Regions from separate parts of the Homo sapiens genome. Here regions 1 and 2 are each linked to region 3. The links are contacts of gene promoters, found by promoter capture Hi-C in blood cells and fetal thymus (Javierre and others, 2016). All regions are on one chromosome and are shown on one strand. Each heading gives the region's core, a stretch centred on a gene start or on the middle of the fragment in contact. The rest is flanking DNA. Distances are from core to core; before and after follow the strand shown. Region 1 holds the start of ELMOD1 (ELMO domain containing 1). Region 2 holds the start of ALKBH8 (alkB homolog 8, tRNA methyltransferase). Region 3 has its middle 66 kb from the start of SLN.

The links. The method cuts DNA at HindIII sites, captures the fragments that hold promoters and counts their contacts. A CHiCAGO score of 5 or more calls a contact.
Region 1: a contact is called between the fragment with the promoter of ELMOD1 here and a fragment that was not itself captured in region 3, in 1 of 17 cell types (endothelial precursors). The highest score is 6.7, in endothelial precursors.
Region 2: the fragment with the promoter of ALKBH8 here is called in contact with a fragment that was not itself captured in region 3 in 1 of 17 cell types (endothelial precursors); the score reaches 5.4 in endothelial precursors.

The regions. Positions count from the first base shown.
Region 1 is chr11:107,589,804-107,592,575 of GRCh38, reverse strand. It overlaps ELMOD1 (ELMO domain containing 1), which reads right to left and starts at 1,429. Exons shown (of 12, transcript NM_018712.4): 1 at 1,167-1,429. RefSeq lists an enhancer at 927-986 and silencers at 1,237-1,376, 1,437-1,546. The HindIII fragment of the contact is 4,180 bases long and covers 1-2,772 here.
Region 2 is chr11:107,564,113-107,566,985 of GRCh38, reverse strand. It overlaps ALKBH8 (alkB homolog 8, tRNA methyltransferase), which reads left to right and starts at 1,251. Exons shown (of 12, transcript NM_138775.3): 1 at 1,251-1,385. RefSeq lists enhancers at 959-1,018, 865-1,381, 1,089-1,578, 1,382-1,900. The HindIII fragment of the contact is 7,705 bases long and covers 1-2,873 here.
Region 3 is chr11:107,776,664-107,779,445 of GRCh38, reverse strand. No RefSeq gene overlaps it. Among named protein-coding and RNA genes, the nearest start is that of SLN, 66 kb to the right of the region's middle. The HindIII fragment of the contact is 1,273 bases long and covers 655-1,927 here.

The sequences.
Region 1 (2,772 bases), core at 180-2,679, 190 kb after region 3:
TAAGTCTGCTGTAACTACGTGTTGTCATAATAGGTTAATGAATTAAGACATTTATCCCAATACAAGCATACTACCTGCTTTCCACCATATTGGCAGCACCAGTTAAGGACGGTTGTCAAGCCACCGGCACAAAACGTATACATTGCAGAGATGCAGAACAATGCCTGGATGCCTGCCCAAAATTGGTCTCTCCAAATGACAGACTCAATTGATAGTACCAATCTACGGCCCACTGGGGGTTAGCAGCGTATTTTCCTAGGTGGTGGGGGAAAGGGATGAAATGTGGAAAGCTCAGGGCACTGTGCAGAGCAGAAAGGCTGACAACATATTCATTAAACTTGATCTGAAGCAAGTGAGCCCGTGAGGTCGTTCCTGAAATATTCATAAGATGTGTTACCGAACTCGCCGCTTAGAGGTTGAGCATAAACACTGAGTCAGAACAGCCCGTACCCACACTTGGAAAACAAAAAAAAGCACCCACAACAGCTCACCCCACCACCACACTCCACTGCTCTGCTTTTAACAGCCCCGTCAGCTGTCAGCTGTCACTCCCCACTCGGCTGTCCAATTCTACCTGCCCGGGAAAGAGATGCTCCAATATTGAAGTGCGGAGTTTCCCAGCAGTTGGAGGAGGCGCAGCTCAACAGCCCAGCCGACCGCTCCTCCCAGCTCGCTGCGCGGAGGACCCCACAGTCCGGCGGCCCCGCAGCCCGGCTGCCTAGCTCCTCCCTGGAGACCGAAGCCCACAAGGCAAGGGGTTCCCAGGGACCCAGACCAGCCCCTCGCCCCAGCCAGGCCGCCCTTGTCCCGCCTTCCATTTTGGCTCTGTCTGGGATCCCTTCCCCGAGCCCTCGGCGTTAGGTCGCTAGGCGACCTACGCCCGGGCCGAGATGCAAACAGCCTCTCGCGCCGACCTGCAGCCTCTCGGGTGTTAATTGGGAGGACAGGATAGAAGGGGAAATCACTGTCCTGGGTGACCCCGGAGCCCCTGCACCAAGGCAGAGTGCACTTTCATTCCCGTTCCCTCTCTGCCCCCGATGCTTAGCATTTCTGCTGCCTCCCAGGCACAGCGCAGCTTGCGTGATGCCTCGCGTCCTCGCCGCACCTCTCTCCTCCCCAAGGGCATTCGCCCCTACTCCCTAGGCTCCTCTGGGGTCGCCAATCACCTGGACTCTGGCGGCGGTAGGCTCAGCAGCTCCCGGCGCGCGGCGGCGTGGTCTTCATCTCCGCCTTCCCCAGGCGCTCCGGCTACGCGCTCCGCGGCGGCGAGCGACGCGCTCGGTCCCGGGCGCCGAGGCTGGACAGGGGCGGCCGCGGCTGCCGCACTGGCTGCGGGCGCGGAAGGGGCGGGGGCGGGGCAGGAATCTGGGTCGCGTGGAGCGGAGCAAGCCGGGATGCACCCGGGGCGGCTGGCGGCGAGGAGGCGACCGAGAGCAGCGGGGGAGGGCGTGCAGAGGCTTCCCTGGGAGCACGAAGCGGGCGGCTACTGAGCATGCCCAGTCCGGGAGCCGGGGGCGCGGGCGCGGTGCTGGGGGAGAGAGCGCGGCACCCAGTGCCGGAATCTGGGGGGAAAGGGTTAAATCTGCGGACCCCGCTGCTGTGGGAGGTGGCTGGTGTGGCCCAGTTTAATTGCTCCCGGGTGGCCTCCCTGGAGGAGCCCACGACAGGAAGATGGTGAACCTGAGATGACCTGTCAATGGGATTCCCAGACAGTCCGGGCAAGGTGTGTTCCCCGCCCTCTCCCTGGATAATTGTCCAGAAGTCAAACTTTGTTTTAGTTCAGCTCCAACCTCCCTCGTCTCACCGAGCACCCAGTGACTCTTCCAATCCTGATCCCCACCCTTCACCTGCCTTCCCGGGACTGCAGAACCCTATCCCTCACCCCAACCGGCAGCCCCCGCCTTTCCCACTCCTGGCCCAGTCGGGTCAGATTCTCAAAGAGCCAGCTCTTTAATTAGGTGTAATTGAGAGATCGTGTCAATCCTGCGAGGTCCATATCTGCATTTCAACAAGGGCTTTAGAAGCAATACCGTAACCCCGGGGTTAATTATAACAGGATGAATTATAGACACCCTCGTCCGGGGCTGTTTGGGGGAACATTGCTTCGTGGGGCCCCAGAAGCCACTTCATACAGACAGAGAGAGAGAGAGAGAGAGAGAGAGAGAGAGAGAGAGAGAGAGAGAGAGAGAGAGAGAGAGAGAGAGAGAGAGAGAGAGAGAGAGAGAGAGAGAGAGAGAGAGAGAAACCTGTGCCTTCCGGATTGCATTTCATGTTTGATGAAGAACGTTTTCTCCATAGCTAATCAAAAAAGTCTCTTTAATGAGGCCGCATGGGGTTGGGGAAAGACCAAATGAGCTTCGAGGTCGGCGCTTATTTTAGTTTCATTCATCACTCCAAGCCGGTTACCTGACCGTCTTGTGCCTCTGTTTCCTCACCTGTAAAACAAAGGGTGGTTAATACCTACCTCTGCGGGCTGTTGTGAGGATTACTTGGGCAGCTGGCGGCGCGGAGCAGCCTGGATACCAAAGCATCTGCCTGTCCCGCAGTGGATGTTCCCTGAATAAAAGTCTCTGCAGGTTCCACCTCCACTATTCTGTGTTTATGAAAAGTTGGGTTAGTGATAATCCTTAAATGCTGAACATTTATCTTATTTCCTCTTCACATTAAATGACCTTAAAGCCTTGACCTTTCTGATTTTTTTAATCATTGTTAAAAGCATTAGCCACTATTTACTTTTCTTTCTTTTCAGGGAGATATGAAGGATACCTCCCT
Region 2 (2,873 bases), core at 2-2,501, 210 kb after region 3:
ACCTTTCCCTCCCTGCACTCACATAGCTCATAAACCAATGCAGGTAGAAGGATTATGGTACATTTATATAACAAATAACAGAGCAGGAACAACTGCTAATCATCACCCTCTCCTTTGTCTTTTACTTATGATCTGTTACCAGCTCTTTTTTCTTTCCCTCTGCCACTACTGGGCTTGTTAATATTTCGTTACTTTTCACTTCATCAGTCATCTTCTAGTCTCTCCTCCCACTTGCCACAAGAAGCTCTGGTCATATCATTTCATTTCTCTAACCTTCCTCCCTGCAACTCCCACTCTGCAGGCCTACAGAATTCTGTCTTGCTTCCTTCACCATTCTTCCACACATCTTTCTATTACTCTGTGGTACTCACCATTCCCCTGGCACATTCATGCATATTCACTTCCTTCCCTCCCGCCCATGCAATGCCATCTTTCAGACCCCAGGATCCTCTCCCATATCTCTGTGAACCCTGAATATCTGAGACAGGTCTCAGACAATTTAGGAAATTTATTTTGCCAAAGTTAAGGACGCCCGCCCGTGACACAGCCTCAGGAGGTCCTGATGATATGTGTCCAGGGTGGTCGGGGCACAGCTTGGTTTTATACATTTTAGGGAGACATGAGGCATCAATCAATATATGTAAGATGAACATTGGTTCCGTCCAGAAAGGAGGGACAAATTGAAGCAGAGGCGGGCCAACTCAAAGTGAGGAGGGGGCTTCCAGGTCGCACGTATTACAGCTGAGAGACAAATGGTTGCATTCTTTTGAGTTTCTGATGAGCCTTTCCAAAGGAGGCAATCAGATATGCATTTATCTCAGTGAGCAGAGGGATGACTCAGAGGGATGACTTTGAATAGAATGGGAGGCAGGTTTGCCCAAGCAGTTCCTAGCTTGACTTTTCCCTTTAGCTTAGTGATTTTGTGGCACCAAGATTTATTTTCCTTTCTCACCTCTAATAAGATTCAGGAGGAAATATGCACGAAGAATAGAAGGTGCCAGGGGACATTGCTGAAAGACCAAAGGGCCCAAACCTGTTTGACCTTGTCCATTTGGAGAGCAACAGATAAAAATATAGCTGCACTACCAATTATTACTACTCCCCCCAAAAAGACAACTGAATTTTCAGTGTAACAGACAGCACTTTACAAAGACACTTGGTCGAAAAAGGGTCACTCCCGGGCTCTGGGAGGCGAAGAGGACTGTGGGAGCGCTGTTCGTTGTCCCGCGGGCTCATGGGAAATGTAGTGCAGTTTTCTCCAACATGGCCGCGCCCAGGGGAGATGGCGTGCAAGTATCCGCTGCGGTGTTCTGGTGCTAGAGTGGAGAGGCTGGCAAAGAAGAAGGCACACGCATGGTGAGAATCCGGCCTGAGCCGAAGCGGAGGTGTGTGGCACTTCTTACTGGCGGGCATACGGGCAGCAAATCACCGCTTCCTCTTTTCAGCCTCTTCCGGTCTTCTCTATCCGCCTTGCCAGCTAGGGCTGAGAACCTAGGGAAAGGGGATGGATCCCAGAGGCGCCCTTGGTGCAGTGTGGGCAGTAGGGTGTCTGCGTTGGGTGGTTCTCTCAGTGTTTAGGGTGCATGTGTTTGTGTTTGGTTCGGGCGCTCACGTGGTGCCTGTGTCAATCTTCTGTTTTCTTTGGGGTTGGAGAGGACGGTTGCAACATGGGGCGTGTTAGTGTGGCGCTTCTGGGGCTTTTCTGACCGGTGACAATCGGTCTGATTGCATCGATGCAAAGGCAGTGCTGATGATCTGATCCCTTGCGCAGCTGAGTCTTCCTGTGCTCTTATTTGAGCAATCCCTGCGACTCCTGGACCTCTGGTAGCGTCAGCCTGTTATTTTGATAGATTTCATTGAATATTTATTGTCAGTTGTATGTCAGGCACCAAGTCTGTGCCCTTAAATAGATGACAGTTTTCTGGCCGAAGCCCAACACAAACAGGCAATTATAATACCATGTGAGAACTCTAGAGATAGAGGTCCATGCTAGGTGTTAATGAAAACGTTGAAGAAGGCCACCAAACTCAGAATTCTGGAGGAGGGGAGGTTTAGGAGGTAAGACAGCAAAGTCGATTTAGGTTTATTCGACAAATGGTTATTGAGTGGCTGCTAGGTGCTAAATCCTGTTTAAGTGCTGGGTGCTACAGGGTGAACAATAGAGACAAAATCTCTACTTCATGGAGTGAGTGTTCTTTATTCAGTTATGGGGAAAGACAGAATAAACAAATTAATGAGAGTGTAAGAAAATATGTAGTAAGTGTTATTCAAAGAGTTAAAACGGGGTGCCGTGACAAGTGATGGGGTGAATTTTTTTCTAAAAATTTTAAATCTTTATTTTCTTTTTAAATAGATGATGCAGTTTAAATAGCTACTAACTTCAAAAGTCATGAAAGAAGAAAGCTCCCTTTCATTCCTTTACTCATCGATCCATTTTCCTTCCCTGGAGGCAACCCATATCACCAATTTCTTGTGTGTCCTAAAGATTTATATGTAAACTCTGTATACCAGTGCCGTACGTTAAAATTGGGCCTCGTTTGATAGGAAGTTAGATTCTTTCTAATCTTTGCTATTAATTATTAGGTTGTGCAAAAGTAATCATGGTTTTTGCATTTTTTTAAACATATAAGTATAGGAACATTTGTCTATACTGCTTGTTTCATAATAGGCTCTCTATTATTCAAGGAGGGCATGATGTACATACTACTATTACCACGTAGGGCAATATCTAGTAGGATATATTGGCTTTAAACTCACTAACAAGCAAGTAGCAGAGCATGCATAATCTCCAAACTTTCATTATCCCACAGAGAGTACGCTTAGGCTGGAGCTGGCTGAACCGGACTCAGCATGGCTAGTATCATAGTTAATAG
Region 3 (2,782 bases), core at 42-2,541:
AAACAAACAAAGAATTGGGGTCTCAGAAAAGTTGAAATATCTGTCTCAGGTCACACAGAGTTTGGTGGCTAAGGTAAAAACAGAAACCAGGATTTTAACCTTTCAGTTTAGTCAGCAGCCAAAGTCTCCGCTCTGTAAATTCTGAAGGGGTCATGGTTGCTGTGGCACTGCTGAGACAGCAAATACAAATGCATCTCTAATGAGAGCTGTTGGGATGATTTTCTTGGAAAAACTAGCTTGGTAATACAGTTTTATCTGCAACGCTGGGGGCTGCCCTTTTAAGAAGCTGTCTACAGTTTGTCTCTGTGAGGTCTTACGTATGCCTAGTCACGATTCTCTTTTCTGTCATAATTATGGTGATGTGCCATTTCATCTACATTTAATCACTTAGTATCTGGACATATCCTCAGCCTTCAAAATACATCAATAAATCAGGGAAATTTAGCAGATAGCCACTTAGCTGATTAAAAGGCAAGAGATTTATGAGGAAATTAGATAATGCTGACCATGCAGTTCTCTAGTAGTCCTTTAAAGGGTGTTTTGAGAAGTCTGGCAATATATAAATGGTGCATTAGAGGAAGCAAAGCCTCTTCAGAACGACAAAATTTTACCCATCCTTCATGCACAAACCTGTAGGATTTAATGTTCCAAGCTTTCTTCTCCCAATGCTCAAACTTTTACAATGTACCTTAATCCTCGGTTTAAATACTTTCCTCTTCTAGCAATCTTTTCTTTTCTTTTCTTTTCTTTTGAGACGGAGTTTTGCTCTTGTTGCCCAGGCTGGAGTGCAATGGTGCAGTCTCGTCTCATCGCAACCTCCGCCTCCCGGGTTCAAGCAATTCTCCTGCCTCAGCCTCCTGAGTAGCTGGGATTACAGGCATGCATCACCATGCCCAGCTAATTTTGTGTTTTTAGTAGAGATGAGGTTTCTCCATGTTGGTCAGGCTGGATCTCGAACTCCCAACCTCAGGTGATCTGCCTCCTTGACCTCCCAAAGTGCTGGGATTACCGGTGTGAGCCACTGCACCCGGCCTCTTCCAGCAATCTTAATTTAAAATGTGAACACTTTTGGAGAAGGAAATGAAAGAATTCGTACCAATTTTAAGAGGCCATTTGAACAATTATTAGCTCCAACTGACCATAAACAAGCATTCAGATGGTTCCATATATGCCTCACTCAATCAGCTATTACATTCACTGCCTGCCCATTGGGGAGGCCACAGTCTGTACACAATGTGTGATGTAGAGAACTTGTAGTGCTAGTAGCTGGGGTTTCCATGCTGTCTTTTTCCATTTATGCTGCTATAACAGAACACCCAGAAAGTTCATTCCTTCTTACACCATGAGAGGACACAGTGTATCTACAAGCCAGGAAGAGTGACTTCACCAGACATGGATTCTGTTGGCAGCTTGATCTTGGACTTCCCAGCCTCCAGGACTGTGAGAAATAAATTTCTGTTGTTCATGAGCCAGCTAATCTATAGTATTTTTGTTATGGCAGTGTGAATGGACCAAGACATGCCTTATTCTGCTTTGCAGTGTATCAAAATCTCAATGGAATGGGAAAGGTCAGAAACAAACACTTTTTACATATTCAACATAGAACCAAACATAAAGCCTTAAAAATAACAGGAACTCAGTAATATTGCATTTGTATTTGTTGATTAACTATGCTTTTTCCTATGTTCTATCAGATCCTAAACTTGTGAATCACTACTTTTTGTTTGGGTAAGTAGTAATAATCCTACCATGTAACAAAGCAAAAAGTGATTTAATATTCAAGACATTGCCCAAATATGATATCTCTAAATTGCATATTAATCTTTTCCAGGAAGTCTTTCTTGGCATAACGTAAATGGGACAGAACAAAGAATTTTAGAAGATGCTTGATGAGGAAGTGCTACTCCTATTTAGAAAAAGGAAAGCTTAATTCAATAGGTTATATTTTCTATGGTTGGAACACATGCTATTGACAAATGACAAAGTAAATAGAAGGGGAGTGAGAGGAACATATGATTATTCCGGTGTTAACATGAATGTTTGTGAAAATGACTATATTTGGGAGCCAGAATCTGCATATCTGAGTAGATGATTCACACTCTTACAGACTCTGCAGACGACTGCTTAGGATTGAAGAAACAGGTTCTATCATTAAAAAGCTGGATGATCTAGGGTGATGCTTTTTCACTTCCCTTTCATAACTCTCATTGATCTAACAATAGTATGTGCCTGGCAATGGACTGTTTTTTAAAAACATACATTGTCTTATATAAACTTCACATCTTAAGGAGGCATATACTATTTATATCTCCATTTAACCAATGAGGAAATGAAGGCTTGTACCAGGCAGGATAGAATTAGGTTATGCTACTATAACAAACAACACCAAATATCTTATTGGCTTAAAACAAGATTTAATTTTTGGCTGGCTGGGCATGGTGGCTCATACCTGTAATCCCAGCACTTTGGGAGGCCAAGGTGGGAGGACTGCTTGTGCCCAGGAGTACAAGACCAGCCTGGGCAACATAGTGAGATACAAAAAATAAAAAATTAGCTGGGCATGGTGGCACACATCTATAGTTCCAGCTACTTGAGAAGTTTAGGTGGGAGGATTGTTTGAGCCTAGAAGGTTGTGGCTACAGTGGGCCCTAATTACACCACTGCACTCCAGCCTGAGTGACAGACCAAGACCCTGTCAAAAAAAATTATTTTTTGGCCATACTACAGTTCCACTGTGGGCTCCAGATTTTGGTCACTTCCCTGACACAGGCCTGCTACCCAG